Linked DNA regions of Homo sapiens: regions 2, 3 and 4 are each linked to region 1. Evidence: promoter capture Hi-C in 16 types of primary human blood cells and fetal thymus (Javierre and others, 2016). All regions are on one chromosome and are shown on one strand. Each heading gives the region's core, a stretch centred on a gene start or on the middle of the fragment in contact. The rest is flanking DNA. Distances are from core to core; before and after follow the strand shown. Region 1 holds the start of RASA2 (RAS p21 protein activator 2). Region 2 overlaps ZBTB38 (zinc finger and BTB domain containing 38). Region 3 overlaps RASA2 (RAS p21 protein activator 2). Region 4 has its middle 5.9 kb from the start of ZBTB38.

What was found. Contacts are between HindIII fragments. The CHiCAGO score rates a contact against its expected background, and 5 or more counts as called.
Region 2: a fragment that was not itself captured here is called in contact with the fragment with the promoter of RASA2 in region 1 in 1 of 17 cell types (total CD8 T cells); the score reaches 5.1 in total CD8 T cells.
Region 3: a fragment that was not itself captured here is called in contact with the fragment with the promoter of RASA2 in region 1 in 2 of 17 cell types (neutrophils and naive CD8 T cells); the score reaches 8.0 in neutrophils.
Region 4: a fragment that was not itself captured here is called in contact with the fragment with the promoter of RASA2 in region 1 in 3 of 17 cell types (total CD8 T cells, activated CD4 T cells and naive CD8 T cells); the score reaches 6.2 in total CD8 T cells.

Annotation. Positions count from the first base shown.
Region 1 is chr3:141,484,226-141,488,276 of GRCh38, forward strand. It overlaps RASA2 (RAS p21 protein activator 2), which reads left to right and starts at 2,802. Exons shown (of 24, transcript NM_006506.5): 1 at 2,802-2,991. The coding sequence starts at 2,859. RefSeq lists a silencer at 2,711-3,590. The HindIII fragment of the contact is 5,296 bases long and covers 1,617-4,051 here.
Region 2 is chr3:141,385,616-141,389,565 of GRCh38, forward strand. It overlaps ZBTB38 (zinc finger and BTB domain containing 38), which reads left to right. Exons shown (of 6, transcript NM_001376113.1): 4 at 1,257-1,322. Among named protein-coding and RNA genes, the nearest start is that of ZBTB38, 19 kb to the left of the region's middle. RefSeq lists an enhancer at 1,941-2,170. The HindIII fragment of the contact is 1,618 bases long and covers 1,019-2,636 here.
Region 3 is chr3:141,600,603-141,604,679 of GRCh38, forward strand. The region is part of intron 19 of RASA2 (RAS p21 protein activator 2); the gene reads left to right. It also overlaps the pseudogene YWHAQP6. Among named protein-coding and RNA genes, the nearest start is that of RASA2-IT1, 78 kb to the left of the region's middle. The HindIII fragment of the contact is 9,060 bases long and covers 1-4,077 here.
Region 4 is chr3:141,360,301-141,364,839 of GRCh38, forward strand. It overlaps a transcript of ZBTB38 not described here. Among named protein-coding and RNA genes, the nearest start is that of ZBTB38, 5.9 kb to the right of the region's middle. The HindIII fragment of the contact is 5,814 bases long and covers 74-4,539 here.

The DNA.
Region 1 (4,051 bases), core at 1,552-4,051:
GCAAGTATCAGTAAAAACAGAATAATTAGAAGTGACTTCGGATGAAAAAGCAATGGAGTTTGGGGATTTTAGTGAAACGGTATAAGTCCGAAATCTGCAAAAGGAAGACTGTCTGGAAGAACAAAAAAGTGGAGTGTCCCTTTATGTAAAATTGTTTTCATACCTTTAGTGACCATTTAGTAACAGAGTTATGCACTTGGGGTTAAGCTAGTGAAAAGGAAGGGAAGTTAGAAGATTTTGACACTAATGGACAAAGATATTGATACTTTGTCCATTGGATACGTTTGTCCATTGGATACATTTGTCCATTTGTACATTGATACTTTATCCATGGATACATTTGTCCAAAGGTTCAAATAATTTCTCTGTTTATTGGAGAAAGAAATAGATGGATGAGGCATCGCTTGGCCAAGCAGGAGGAAGGCCAGAATCAGGCTGGTGAGAAAAGGGGCTCAGTGTGGCTGGAGATCAGAGGAGTCAGGTACGCTGGATCCAGTTCCAACTCTTGGCTGAAGAATTTGAACTTTAGTCATTTCTAGCATTGTTCATTACCTGTAGTGTGCTCTTGCTAGCTGGCTGAAGGGATAAATGAAGCCACTGATGTCCTCTTGAGCAGGCAACTGATAAGCTCCATTTTTTTTGTTAGGAAAGTTAATTTAAGTGGTATGTAGGAGGAATGAGAGGGATGGGGGACTTATTACCAGAGTTCCAGTCAAAAGCATGAGGTCAGTTACTGAGGTAATCCTACTACGTGCTCAGCATTCCACTAGACACTTAACACCCTGCTCCCAATACTTATTTAATCTTAATAACAACCCTTCAAAGAAGAAAGTTTAGCATTTCCACTTTACTGTTAAAGAAACAGGTTCAACCGGGCGCAGTGGCTTACACCCAGCACTTTGGGAGGCTGACGCGGATGGATCACTTGAGCCCAGAAGTTCAAGACCAGCCTGGGCAACATGGCAAAACCCCATCTCTACCAAAAATACAAAAATTAACTGGACATGGTGGCGCGCACCTGTAGTCCCAGCTACTTAGGAGGCTGACATGGGAGGATAGCTTGAGCCCAGGAAGTTGAAGCTGCAGTGAGCTGAGATCGTGCCACTGCACTCCAGCCTAGGCAACAGAGCAAGACTGTCAAAAAAAAAAAGAAAGAAAGAAAGAGAAGAAACAGAAACAGGTTTAGGAAGGTTGAGTAACTTGCCCAAATGTAAAAGGGGTAGAAACAGGCTCTATGTCTGATTCTAAAAAGGGATGCCTTTAAAAATAAGGGGGAAAAAACCCTGTAACACGTTGATACTCTTTAAATGAGAATAATTTTAACAAGGGCAATGACAGAGAATGGAAAGGAAGGAAGAGATTTCAGCAGAGTCAGAAGGATGTGGCAACTGAAAACAGCATTGGGACAAGGGATAAGAAAAAGTCAAAGTTTCTGGCCTGAGTAACAGTATAAGATGTGAACTCAGATTTGGAAAGGGAGACAGGAAATTAAGTTTTGGACTTATGTTTGAAATGACAGCAAAACATTCATATAAGAGGAAGTGGTTCACTTTATCCAACAAGTGTAAAGATCACATGGGGAAATAGAAGTCACCTGCAACACAGGCAGAACTGGAAGCTTCGCTGGCCAGGTCCATGTTAAACTCTGACCATTCTCTGGGGCTGTCCAGCCTTTGCACAGGCGGCGCGTTTGTCTTCAGTTTTCAGGTTTCCCCGTCCTATTTCTTATCTCCCAGTGCCTCTGGCCTTTTCTGTGTCTCCCTCCAGAATGAGCTGGAGCTCTCTTCATCTTGACCTTTGTGTAGTCTCTGAGGTCTGAGGCCATCACTATGTCTGACCCTCAAAAAATATTTGTTGACTGACTGGCTTATTCCTGTTGTTGCCCTGGAAAAGAATTACCCTGCCCGATTAAGTCACAGTTTCTTCCTTCTTAGGGCAGCGTAGTTAACAACCTCAACACCAGGAAATTGTCTTCCTCATCACATACCAGGGTATTATTCATGCAGTTTACTCACTGTAAAGAGTTCCCTTGAAATAAAGCTAACAATTAGTCAAAGATTTACACATTTCCTAGGGTCAGTCAACTTTTTAACAAAGCCAACTTTTAGTAGTGGTGGCGGTGGCGGGGGGGAGCCCTTCTTTGCTTTTTCTGTTCCTGAAATACAAAAGTGATGGTAAATGCTTCAGAATTTCTCTATGAGAGGGTCTCAGGCACTGCACTCACGCTGGAGTTGGGGGTGGCTGGTCCTTTTCTTGAACCAGGTTTTGCAGAGAATTGGTCCTAGTAAAGAGTATTTGTGTGGGAGGAGTTTGGCTTGCTGGCGGGGAGTATTTGGATAATACTGGAAGAGCCTCAAATGCATCTCTTGCCTCCTTTTGAATAAGATACTTTTGAGGTCCACCCACCTGCCAAATTCCATTCTATTTTCTTCCCACAGGGAGTTTCCCTGATTGGGAAGGGCCTGTATTTCCCGCGAGCGTTAGGAGATGTGCAGGTCTATTCATTGGGGGAGCCCAATTCCCGGGAGGATTTAGGGATCACGGGAGGGCCGGGGCGTTCTCCTGGTGGGGATTTTAAGGCCGCTCAGAGCCACGACTGGGAGCTACCCTTAGCCAGCGCCCCAAGCCGGGAGTACGGTTCTCTGCAGGGTAGCCCGGCTCGGGGGTGGCGAAGGCGGTGAATGGAGACCCGGGGGGGGCGGGGGCGGGGCCGCGGCGGGCGGGGCGGGGCGGGGCGAGTCGGGCCGAGGCCCGGGGGCGGGGCCAGGCGCGCGGCTGGCCTGGGCCTAGGCCGCTGCTGGGCTCCGCCTCGCCCGGCTACGCAGGCGGCAGGGCTGCGGCACGGGCCGGGCGGCACCATGGCGGCGGCGGCGCCTGCTGCTGCGGCGGCTTCTTCCGAGGCGCCAGCGGCGAGTGCGACTGCAGAGCCCGAGGCCGGGGACCAGGACAGTCGCGAGGTTCGAGTGTTGCAGAGCCTGCGGGGCAAGATCTGTAAGCGGGGGCTGGGCTGAGGGGACGCCCTGGCGGCGCTGGGCGCGAGGCTGAGGGGGCGGCGGGTTCGCGGCGGTGGCGGCGCCGAGCTGCGCTGGGATCGCGGGCCCGGGAGGGGGCCTGGGCCGGGCGCGGTTGAGGCTGGAAGGGGGTGTGTTGGGGGGCGGCGTCGCCTCGACGGGGCGGCGTGGGCCGGGGCTGCTGCTCTCCGGAGGGAGTGGGAGCTGGAGATGGGCCTGGGGTGGGAGAGCCCGGGCTGCGCCGGCGTGAGGGGCTCGGTCGTGGGGAGCGGCCTGGACGCGGGGACGCTGGAGTCCGGGGCGCGGCCGGGGGCGCGGTCCGGGGGCGTGAGGAGCTTCCGGCCGCCCTCAGACTCAGGCCTTCGCGCGGCTGCGGGCGCTGGGGAGTGGCCCCGCGGTGGGAGCCGAGCAGTAATTATACGGAGGCGCGGCCCGAGGAGGTGGCGGGCTGGGAAGTGGGGCTGGCCCGAGGGGAGGGGGCTGTTCGTTTCCTGGGCTCGGCGAGCCTGGGAGAGGTTGAAAAAGGCGCCCTGAGCTGCAGGAAACGGGCCGCCCTGGGGCCCGAGTGGCTACCGCGCGGTCTGTTCGCGGGTGAGCGCCCCGGGAGGAGCTCGGCGGGACACCTGTACTTGCCCCACCTCGCTGCGGCCGGGACTTGAATCGAGGGACGGCGTGACAGGCGGGACTAAAGGCAGGATGTAGTGGCTTCCTGTGAGCAGGTCTCAAAACACAATCACCCAGCCCGCACTCAGCCCGCTTAATTCCCTTCCTTCTCATGCGTGTAATTGCTACTTTAGTGAGCGAGCCTACCAGTTGACTAAATACGAAATTTTGCTCAGAGTTGTCCGAGCATTACTGTGGACAGATTATTTGAGTTCTGTCATTTGAACATTTTAGTTTTAAAAACGACCCTTTGGTGTCAGGTTGCCATTTTTTTTTTCACAGTGGTTTATTTAGATGAAGTGCTTTTTGTTTTCTGTTTGTAAGAGAGATCAATAACATTTATTTTTGCATTTGTCGAAAATTAGCATTATTTTCTT
Region 2 (3,950 bases), core at 578-3,077, 100 kb before region 1:
CATGTTAAACATTTCATTGCAATTCGAGCTTTGAGTGTGTGTGTGTGTGTGTGTGTGTGTGTGTGCGCGTGTGTTGATAGGAAGGAATGAAAGGGGGTGCATAAGAATTCTTGAATGTTTTTTATTTAAAAAATTAATTCCTCACCATTACATATTGAACTATCTGCAGAAGGTGATTCCAATTTATTACATACCACCAAACTAGATCCCATCAATCTTGAGCAGTGGGGGTAGGGAGGTGGTTTTGAAGATGACATGAAATTTGGTGTTTGAGTAGATGAGATTTAATTTTCGGAAAACATTTCACTCATAAAACGGATATCAACCCAGTGTCAGCACTGACCTCCTGATGTCAATGTCATCATGCAAGCATAGCTAAAATAAGCCTCAAAGTAAAACAAAGAAACATTGCATCTCAGCACAACACGATTTCTTCTCTTACAGTATGTACTATCTATAGCCTTTTGGTATTCCTATTAATGGCTTGTTACTTTAAAATTTAGCTTTTGGAGGGGGAGGGAGAAGATAAATCATTTTGCATTTTCTGTGTTCTGAACGCATACAGTATGCTGCTGTAAGTCTTAGTATTATTTAGGTCAGTATCCTAAGGATAGCTTTAATCGTTCATGATGGTCAGCTATACAGCCAGAGGAATTCAGCATCAATTTATTTTTCTGTTCTGATTTTATTCTGCTTCCAAGTTTTAAAAAATCCATTCACATTTTAATAAAATTCTGAGGCGGTATCTGCCGCTCTGTACTGCAGATACATTTAGCAGGATACATTTACACTGCTTGTGGTTAAAGGTTATAGCACGGATACAGACAGCTGATCATGCATTTTTCTACAAGCCTGCCGGCACCATTTAGGATTTTGAAAAATAATCTAGAAATGCTATACCCTTTATCAAAATTATTTTTTACTTTGCAAGAGCTTAACAGTTTTGGTTTTTTCTTAGCAATTCTATAAAATTAACATCTATAAAATGCATCCCGGACCAGATACATACTGTATTGAAAGCTTTCTTCAGGAAGAGAATATGAGAGTGTTCTTTCCAGCTTATTTTCTTCCTTAGCAAAAGGATTGTTTGATTCTCAGAAGCAGAAGGACACATTCATTGTGGAGCAGCTCTGCTTAAGTGTATGAAATGCCTTCTGTCTGGTTGCAGAATTTGGAGTTTACTAAACAGTGTTTAGTGATTGGGCTCATCTTGCATCACCAGTTGATGACATTTTTCTTTGTTCCCTCCTACCCAGTTGAACCAAGACTCTGAGGCTGATATGCAATGTCACTTACAACATTAATCAGATACTGCATTTAAGGTGAGCTGTCCCTTGCCTCCTCCTTCCCCAGTGCTCGTGTGCTGCATGCAGTGCGTATCTTGCTTCTGCGAGCCTAAGATGGCAGGCAGGATTAGCCGTGCTTGTGCTGTGTGTGCATGCTGTGTCTAGAATTCATTACACGTTGCCTAGTATTTCAGATGTGAGTATGTAAATGCTCTGTATGCCATATCATCTGGTAGCGAAGACTTGTTTTTGCCTCATTACAGCCTTAGATATTTCAACATCACCTTTCATTTCCAATTCATTTGCTTCTGGATGTTTGTTTTTCATCACATTCAAAATATGATTTTACCTTTTTTTTTTTAACAAAACCAAAACCCCCCACAAACCCTAAAAACAAAAACAACAACAACAAAACTCTGCTACCAGATGGTGTCTCTCCTTTCTTCGTGCATTTGCTGTCTTTTAAATAATGTATGTTGTATTGTTAATTAATGTGAATATCAAATTAAACACTTGAAACTTACATGTTTATTATGCAGGTAGGAGGCAAGGTGGATTCTATTTTTAACTCTTATGCACTCCATCATGTGCAAGCAACTTGGGTTCTCAAATTTGTATTTTCAATGCTGGTATCAGTGGTTTGATTTTCAGCAAATGTGACAGTGGCCTTTGCAGTGGTCAGCTCCGAGCTTTGAACTCTCAGAGGAGGAAGGGGAAAAAAATTCAACACACCACCTCCTTGGTTGCAGTCTCAGAAAAACCTTGGATGAGAAACTTCTTTTTTCAATCCTGTTTTCCTGTTGATAAATTCAGTTCTGTGATCACAGTTCATTCAAGCTGTTCTGCGTATGATTTTTGTGTGTATGTGACAATTGCATCTAAAACTTGTGAGCAAGAAGACAGAGAAATCAGTTGGTCTCCATCGCTTTACATAAAAATGGCTGAGTGTCTTGTCATGCTAGCACTGCATTAAGTGATGCATACAGGTAGGTTGAAATTTGCATGTTTTTATAGTTTTTTTTGAGCCATGCAGCAAGAACATTAGATGCATTAGAATATGACTTTTAAAAAAACAAAAATTAAATAAGACAGCTGTAATCTTTTGGGGGAGGGTTTTTAATTGGACAGCCTCTGCTATTCAGATAGTATATAAATGTATAGCTTTTACAAACTTAGTAAATGATTCTGCCATAAAAGGGAGATTTTTTTTAAAAAAAAATCATATATATGATAGGTGTGGTGCCATTAGACAACAAAAGAATTTTTTGAAAAGAGTGATGATTCAGCTCCATTTCAGCTTGAAACTAAAAATAAATGGGTTTCTGGAGATGATTTCAAAGAGCGTAAACAAGCTTAATAAGAAACATTAAAAATATTTAAATTTTAAGAAGCGGTCTTTAAACGTGTTTATGAAAGATGAAAATAAAAACTGATATGCTTCCAAAATTAATTTTAGGTAATATACAAGAATACATTATATTATGTATATAATTTGGGGGGATGAGGAGTTACAATTTTTAAAGAGGGAAATATTAAATATAGATGGCCCTCTTAAAAGAAATAGAGCTTCACTAAATGAAACCGAGCCCCTAGAATGGTTCATTGCAGACCATATAGCTGTGGTTCTGGCACTTTTCAAAATAATTTCATGAGCTCTTTCTTTTGAACTTAACTTCTCAAATATATTTTAGTTTCAAATTTAACACTGGGCCAGAACCTGTTTCCTTGGTAACCAAATCGTATTTAAACATGTAATAACAGATATGCAAAAGAATGTCTTTAAAAAGGAAACAAATGTTTAATGAAAAATTTACAGTTCTTTTTCCTCTCATATAGAATCTGAACTGGTTTTAGATGGTTTTTAATGCGGTCTTCAAGCCTTAAAAATTAAGCCATGTTTCTAAACATATAGAGAAAGCTTGCACAGTGACAGCTTTTCTCTCCCTCCTTTGTGCTCAGTACTTTCAAAATTAAGGTTTTCTTTGCAGTATGCTCCAGAATGCAGGTCAAGGTTTGTGTACAGAGGTGTAGTTTCATTATCACAAGTTCACCAGCGCCACTGAAACAAAAGGTATTTCAGAAATTCTGAGAATCAGAAAATGCTTGTACTCTTGCCTTCCCTGATCCCTCCGTTGGTAACCTCAGTGCTGTCGGTAGAAAAGGACCCACATCCAAGCCTACCCCTCCAATGACAAGTGCACCCTGAACCTTTGTGGAAATATCTCTATAGGTGTGTTAGGAAGATGGTGCTAAACCTGAAACCTCCCCGAGGTTTGCTTCAATGTGAAGAACATTGAGATTCAAAACCATCTGTGTAAATGGCTGCTTTATTCTAGCAGTTTAACTAATATTCTATTCCATAGCACTATCGTAGAATTGAACCTCTCTAATGGGCTGAAGGGTGGTGGTGGTTGTTGTCATGTTGTTTTGTGGCCAACTAAAATATTTTGCTTGGAGTCTTTCTCTGGTTCAATTATTTTGGAACGTGATTCATCTCATACTGATTTTGTTCTCCAGGCTTGCCATGAAATACCCTTCCTGCAACACCTTTTTTTTTTTTTTTTTTGGCTGTTGGGAGCCATTTTCCTTCTTGCCTGTGACTTTAAATGACTAAGTACATTTTGAATATAGTATCAATCAGAAGATTGTAAACTGAAGGGAAAT
Region 3 (4,077 bases), core at 474-2,973, 120 kb after region 1:
GAGAGCAAGGGCAAGCGCCGACCCGGAGCAGGAGGAGTCCTTCAGAGCTTCACATCTCCGTGGCCACAACTAGAGTCCCACCACTTTGATCTGCCTTTTAGATAAGTATTTTTTAAGAAGCCACATCTCCCTGAATTCATCTCGATTTTAACACAATCCCACTCCAAATCCCAGCCAGTTTTTAAAATAAAAATGGACAAGTTGATTCCAGAATTTACATGGATGGAAAAATAAAGGTCTTAACCATAGCCAAAGCAATGTTGAAAGGTAAAACAAAGTTGAGAGCTAATTTAAAGACTTACTGTAAAGCTGCAGTAATCAAGATTGTAGGTTTAGGATAAGAGAGAAAGAGATCAATGGACAGAGCAGAAAGAAACACACACATAAATATGGCCAATTCCGTTTTAACAAAGCTGTCAAGGCAATTCAGTAGGGAAAGAAAAGGCTTTTTAACATATGGTGCAGGAACGACCCTGATAAACATGGAGGGGAAATGAACTTTACCCCACCTCACACAACACAAAATTTAATTTAAGATGATGGGGCCGGGCACAGTGGCTCACACCTGTACCCTAGCACTTTGAGAGGCTGCGGCAGACAGATTGCCTGATCTCAAGAGTTCAAGACCAGCCTGGGCAATATGGTGAAACCCCGTTTGTATTAAAAATACAAAAATTAGCTGTGCATGGTGGCCCACGGCTGTAATCCCAGCTACTCAGGAAGCTGAGGTCCGAGAATCACTTGAATGCTTGAACTCGGGAGGCAGAAGTTGCTGTGAGCCGAGATGGCATCACTGCGCTCCAGCCTGGGCAACAGAGAGAGACTGTCTCCACTGTCTCCAAAAAAAAAGAAAAAAAAAAGATGATAGAATCATAGACCTCAAAGAAAATGTGGAAAAATATCTTCGAAACCATGATATGCTAGGATTTCTTGAAGAGAACATTAAAAGCACTGAACATTTTTCTTAAATGAATTGGACTTCATTGAAAAGAAAGATGTATTTTCTCCATTATTCATTGTGATTCCTTTTTCTTTTTTTAATATGATGACCATAAAATGTATTACTTGGTGGTTGAAATTTTTCAAGAGCTTGTTGGGGTTTGTTGAATTTTTTGAACCATAAGATAATGTTTTTCACCAAATTTGGGACTTTTTTGACTTATTTCTTCAAATTTCTCCCCTTTTTCTTCTAGGGATCCTCCAATTTATGCTGATAAATTGTCTCATGGATCTCACTGAGACTCAGTTCATTTTTCTTTTATTCTCTTTGGTCTCCAAATCAGATCATTTTTACTTAAGTTCACTGATTTAGCTCATGTGAATTTTTCATTCATCTGTTGTACTTTTCAGCTCCAGAATTTCCATTTAGTTCTCTTTGTACTTTAGATTTTTCTGTTGAGAGCCTATATATGTTCAGTTGCTATTAGTATATTTTTATTGAATTATTTCAGCATATTTAGAGTAACTGCTTTGAAGTCTTAGGCTGCTAAATTCAGTATCTGGACCCATTCAGAATCAGTTTTAGTTGGCTGCCTTCTTTCCCAAGTTATGTGTCACACTTTCCTGTTTTTTTATATGTCTTACTTTCTTATTAAAAGCTAGACATTTTTAAGATCAGCAGTCCCCAACCTTTTTGTCACCAAGGACCAGTTTCATGGAAGACAATTTTTCCACGGACTGGTGGGGGGTCATGTATTTGGGATGAAATTGTTTTACCTCAGATCATCAGGCATTAGATTCTCATAAGGAGTGCACAACCTAGATCTGTTGCATGCTCGTTTCACAATAGGATTTGCACTCTTGTGATCTCATGCCACCCTTATCTGACAGGAGGCAGAACTCAGGTAGTAATGCTTGCTTGCCCACCCACTGCTGCTCCTGCTGGGTGGCCCAGTTCCTAACAGGCCACTGACCAGTACCAGTCTATGGTCCAGATTTTGGGGACCCCTCTTTTAGATAGTACACTGTAGTGTGTCTGCATTTGGTTTGTTCTGAATGCTTGCCTAGACTAAAACTGCAGTCTCTCTCTCTTACTTACAGTGTATCTCTCTGTTCAGATGTTTCCCTCTAACCCTAGCTAGCTCCCTAGGGGGCCTCACCTGAACTTGATTAGTTTAGTGGTCAACAAATGAATTGAGCAGGCAGCTCAAATACCTCAAAGGCTTCCACCCTCTGTCATCTGAGCTGTGTGTGGATTAGAGAATACATTCAGAGTCACAGCAAATTGACGTCTCCCCAGGCTTTCAGTTTTTGCCAGACTCTGGGATATTCCACATACATGCCTACGTTAGCAGTCAGGCAGGGATCTGGCAAGTTTATTATCAGGCTTTCATAGCCCTCTTGCTTCCAGATTTCATCCTTAAATGGAATCTGTAACCTCCAGCCAGTAAAACTTGTATTTTCATTGCCTAACTTGGGGATAATGGAAACACCCCCAGGTAGGAAGACCATAAATCCACAGTTCTTACCCTATGCGGTTTTTCATGAGTAAACTTATCACCGTTGGTTGTTTTCCCGTGCCCTGAAGTTGTTTTTAACAATTTGCCCAGTTTTATACACCCATCTTTCTTAACACTATTATCAAAAATACAGTCATGGTAACATTGTTTTAGCTGTGTCCCTTGGGGCCAATATGTAGTTGGACATTCATTTTTATTGTGGTGGTAATTGTATTTTTTTAAATTTAGGCCAGGCACAGTGGTTCAGGCCCGTAATCCCACTACTTTAGGAGGCCAAGGCGGGTGGATCACCTGAGGTCAGGAGTTCGAGACCAGCCTGGCCAACATGGTGAAACTCCATCTCTACTGAAAATACAAAAATTAGCCAAGTGTGGTAGTGGGCGCCTGTAATCCCAGCTACTCAGGAGGCTGAGGCAGGAGAATCGTTTGATCCCAGGAGGTGGAGATTGCAGTGAGCCGAGATCATGCCATTGTACTCCAGCCTGGGTGATGAGAGCAAAACTCTGTCTCAAAAAAAAATAAAAAATAAAATTTAGATATAATTCACATACCATAAAATTCACCCTTTTAAGGTATACAGTTGATTGGTTTTCAAGATATTCATAGTGTTGCGCAATTGCCACTAATTCCAAAGCATTTTCACCACCCAAAAAGAAACCCTATACCCATTAACAGTCACTCCCCATTCCTCCCTTCTCCCAGCCTCTGACAACCACTAATATACTTTCTGTCTCTATAGATTTGCCCATTCTAGACATTTCATGTACATGGAATCATATGTAGCCTTTTGTGACTAACATCTTTCACTCAGCATAATGTTTTGGAGGTTCATTCATGTTGTAGCATGAATCAGTACTTTATTTTCATGGCTGAATCATATTCTCTTTTACAGATAATACCACATTTTGTTTATTCATTCACCAGTTGATGGACATTTAGGTTGTTTTTGGTTTTTGGCTATTATGAACAATGCAGTTGTGAACATTCATTTACAAGTTTTTGTGTGGATGTGTCTTCAGCTCTCATGGTATATACGTAGGAGTGTAATCAGTGAGTTAATAGGGTATTTCTGTTTAATTAGGAGGTAATGACAACTTTAAAACCTGATTTCAGCCATTTAGTAGGAAATTTAATGCACTCACATTTATTGTGATTACCATTACTACTACTTTGTTTTGTGTTTTCTATTTACTAGTCTTTTCTGTTTCTTGGGTTTATTTTTCCCTTCCTTTTTATTGGAATAGTTGAGCATATATGGGTGTTTGCACTCTATCTTTCTGTCTCTATCTAGTGAGGAAACTTGACTATCCTATTTTTACTTTTTAAATTGTTAACAAATTAAAACTTAAATGTTTATATTAATGTCTACAGTTGATCCAAGTCTCCATTCAAGCTGGGAAAGAACATTATCATGCTTTCAATTATTCTTTTCCTAGCATCTCCCTAAAGAAGTCATCTGGAATTTTAATACTTGTTTCTCTTGTTTCTTTTACCTTTTTACATTATGTTTTAATGATTTTGCATCCTTGCCTATCAATTTTACTGATTTCTTTGGCCCAACACTATTTTTTGTATAACACATCTTTTTCCTGGATTCATTATTATTTTGTGGGAGTAC
Region 4 (4,539 bases), core at 1,731-4,230, 120 kb before region 1:
AAAGTCAAAAGAATCCCCTGTGTGCCTTGATGCTTGTTTCGGCGTGTGCCTGGAGTGAGGGATGAACGTCTTAAGCTTTGCCATCAGAAATTGCCATTTTTGTACATCAAAAAGGGTCTACAATTGTCATTTCTAATACAGTTCGGCCTAATCAACCACCAAAGATTTTAACATTGATTCTGGGGAGGCATGAGGGGATGGAAAATCTTTTAATTATATTTTATTATATTACTCTTATTTATGAACATGTATTATTTTTGAATCATTAACAATTCTAATTTTTAAAAAGTAAGGAACAAAAAGAGAGTGCTTAGTCTGAGCTGTCAAAAGCTGTGAATAAGCTGTAAGTCCCTGGGCAGGTCCCGTCATTTTTCTAGTCTAGGATTTCTTCACCTCGGCACTATCGACTTACTGGACCAGATAGTTGTGTTGGGGTCGGGGGGCTGTCCTGTGTATTATAGGATGTTTGGCAGCATCCCTGGCTTCTACCCACTGTTGACGGTATTACCCCCAAAATGACAATAAAAAAGTCTCCAGATGTTGCCAAACGTTTTCCAGGGGGCAAACGCACCCCTGGTTGAGAATCACTGCTCTTGTCCTCAGTTTCTCATCAATAAAAGGAAGCACAGAACCAAGTGCTTTAAGCTCACCTAAAGCACCAAATTCTCTGACTCCGTCAATGTCAAATCTGTAAATTTGTTTTCCAGAAGCTATTTTCCTCCAGAGCCACTAGAGGGGACACTCTGCTACACAAAGGACAAAAACAGAGCACTCAGGGAACTTTGTTTTCCTCTCCTCTTGACTTTGTTTCTGTTTCTGACCGCCCCAGCCTTAAATAAATAGTCTTTGATGTTGAGTGTGATAACCCCTTACCACGAAGCATGAAGAGTTGTTTGTCTTGTGCCTGGTGCCATAAAAGTCAGTGTTTTTAGATATGGCGGGGAGGGGAGGGCAAAATATTCTCTGCTTTTTAAACATTCTTTGTAAGGTAGTCAGATGAATCATGCCTCTAAAAAAAGATGTGCATTTCCATAAGCGGAGCCTGCAGGACAACCAGGCTGGGAGGTGGAAAATCTAGTTCTGTTCCTGGTCCTGCCACTTCTGGGCTGTGTGATGTTGGCCAAATTTCTTGACTTCTCTGGTTTTATATAGATAACAGAACTGAGGAAGCTGAGGCTGAGAAGTTAAGGTCACACAGTATGTTAAGTGGTCAAGCAAGGACTTGCGTCTGACCCATCAACTTCATAGAATAGTTGTGAAAACCAGAAGAGATGGAGAAAGTGAAAGAGTCTTGAAAAATAGAAAACCCCACAACAAGTTCAAGGTGTGAATGTGTAGATATTGTGGGAATGAGAGAAGGGGATGGCTATGGGGTAGCATGAGGGAGCAGGGTAGGTCCAGACAGCAAACAGAAGTTACTCCTTCTCCAAGTGTTGTAAATTACAGGAAAGAGCCTCAGTGCCCCCAAATACTTCACTACTGATGGAGCTTCATCCCTAGGACTTAAGGTCTCCATCCCTATAAAAGTGGACAGATCACTAAGAGGAGTTTACTTTATGCTCTGATGAGTTGTTTATACACCTCAGCGAAAGTGAGGGATCTACAACACTGGTTTTTAAACATTTTTTTAAAACCCTGAACCACAATAGAAAATATGTTTCACAGAGAGACCCAGCTCACATACATATTATAAAATCGAAACGAAAGTGTTAGTTATAATGTACTTGGATCTTTTCTATTGTTTTATTTTATTCTATCACTTGCAACCCATGCTGACCCACTAAATAATGAGTCCTGACCTGCACTTGAAGGTATTATACTAGAAGGTTTTGTGGAGGGGAAAGAGTTTAGGGTCCTGGAGCTGGTCTAGGGAGGAAACAGATGTGTCCTCCGAACAGTATTCAAGGATCCCTAAAGATGAACTTTTTACAAGTTTTATAGTTTTCCAAGGGCTGATTCTCTGAGGCGTGATTCAGGAGGAAGAAAAGAGAACAATAATTCCAAATTTGAATTCCCAAAATTCACCCAAATGAGTGAGGATGGGCCATTGGGTAGCAACCTCTAGACTGGATTCTCAGAGGTTATGATCTAAACCCCCCACATCATTAACATAAAATAGATAACATAAAATATAGATAGCATAAAATGACCACCAGCACAAAAAACATTTTTAATCCAACATTTATTGAGCCATTATTATATATCAGACATTGCACTAAGCACTTTACATGAGTGATAGGACATAAATTAAGTTTAAGTGTTCCCTGATTTTCTTCTCTTCCTGCCCACTAACAAGAGTTCTGGCTTTGTTTGTCCAATTTCTTTTTCTGCCCCAACAGAAGAAGAACTGGACAGAGCGGAAGGACCAGAGGAAGGCTGATTAGGACTGGAGAAAAGATTTCAGGGAGTTTGGGAGAAAGAAAGGGAGGCAGAAGCTATGGGGTGTAAGAGGCTTGGATAGGAGGGGAAAAGGATGCTGAGGGGAATTGAAGGGGCTCTTTGTGATGTTTGAGAAATGCAAGTATTAATATGAGTTAATTAGAAATTACTTTTGGTGACTAGACTGGGTTTCTTGGGCTGCAACCCTGCCCCCCACCCCAAGACTGCACCCTGTAGGTCATGGTCTGAATAGGGTTACATATGCATTATCTTATTTAATCTGCATAACAAACCCATGAGGTGGTATTAGTATTTCCTTTTTCTCAGATGAAGAAAAAGAACTTGATACAGTCTAAGTAACCTTACATTACATGCAGCTAATAAATAGTGAAACCAGGACTGGGACTTAAGACTTTTGATCATGAAAGCACAAGCTCTTAAGTCCGTGAGCATAGATGATTCCCAGTATAAACAATACCAGTTAATAAAATACTCGAGAATAAATTTAACAAAAGAATTGCAAGACTTGTACACTGAAAACAACAAAACATTGCTGAAATAAATCAAAGATCTAAATAAATGAGAAGGTTTCCTAGGTTTATGAATCAGATGACTGAATATTGCTAATATGGGATTACTCCCAAAATTGATCTGCAGGTACCATTTAACATCTATCAAAACCCCAGCTGTATTTTTTGCAGAAATTGAGAAGCTGATCCTAAAAATCATATGGCAATGCAAGGGATCCAGAATAGCCAAACGATTTTGAAAGAGAACAAAGTTGGTGGACTCACACTTCCTAATTTCCAAACATAATATGAAGCTATAGTAATCAAAACAGTGTGGTACTGACATGACAATAGATATCTAAATCAATGGAATAGAATTAAGAGTCCAAGAATAAATATTAATATTTATGGTCAGTTGATTTTTGACAAAGGGGCCAAGACAATTCAATAGAGGGAAAAATAAATAAACTCTTTATTTTAGAATAGTTTTTTAAATAAACTCTTTATTTTAGAATAGTTTTATATGTACAGAATTATTGTAAGAATAATCTTTTCAACAAATAGTTATGGGACAACCAGATAGCCACATGAAAAGAATGAATGTGGATCCCTACCTCACACCATAGGCAAAATTAACTTAAAGTGTATCATAGATCTAAATGTAAGAACTAAAACTATAAAACTCTCAGAAGAAAACTCAGGTGTAAATCTTCATGACCTTGGGTTAGATAATGTTTTCTCAAATATGATGCCAAAAGTACAAGTGATGAAAGAGAAGATTGATAAGTTGGACTTTATCAAAATTAAAAACTTTTATGCTTCAAATAACACCAACCAGAAAAGAAATGACAACCATAGACAGGGAGATAATATTGTAAAATATATATCTGGTAAGGGACTTTTGTCTGGGGTATATAAAGAATCCCTAAAACTCAAAAATTTAAAAAAAAAAATTAGGCCGAGTGTGGTGGCTCACGCCTGTAATCCCAGCACTTTGGGAGGCTGAGGCAGGCAGATCACCTGAGGTCGGGAGTTCAAGACCAGTTGGACTTCATCAAAATTAAAAATTTTTATGCTTCAAATAACACCAACCAGAAATGAAATGACAACCATAGACAGGGAGATAATATTGTAAAATATATCTGATAAGGGACTTGTGTCTGGGATATATAAAGAATCCCTAAAACTGAAAACTTTAAAAAAAAAATTTTAGTCCAGGTGGCTCACACCTGTAATCCCAGCACTTTGGGAGGCTGAGGCAGGGAGATCACCTGAGGTCGGGAGTTCAAGACCAGCCTGACCAACATAGAGAAACTCCATCTCTACTAAAAATACAAAATAAGCCAGGTGTGGTGGCACATGCCTGTAATCCCAGCTACTCGGGAGGCTGAGGCAGGAGAATCGCTTGAACCCGGGAGGTGGAAGTTGTGGTGAGCTGAGATTGTGCCATTGCACTCCAGCTGAGGCAATAAGAGGGAAACTACATCTAAAAAAAAAAAAAAAAAAAAAAAAAAAAAAAAAAGCCCAATTTGAAAGATAAAGGATTTGAATAGACAGTTCTCCAAAGAAGATATACAAGTGACCAATAAGCTCCTGAAAACACACTCAACATCATTAGTCATTTGTTAAATGCAGTTCAAAATCACAATGA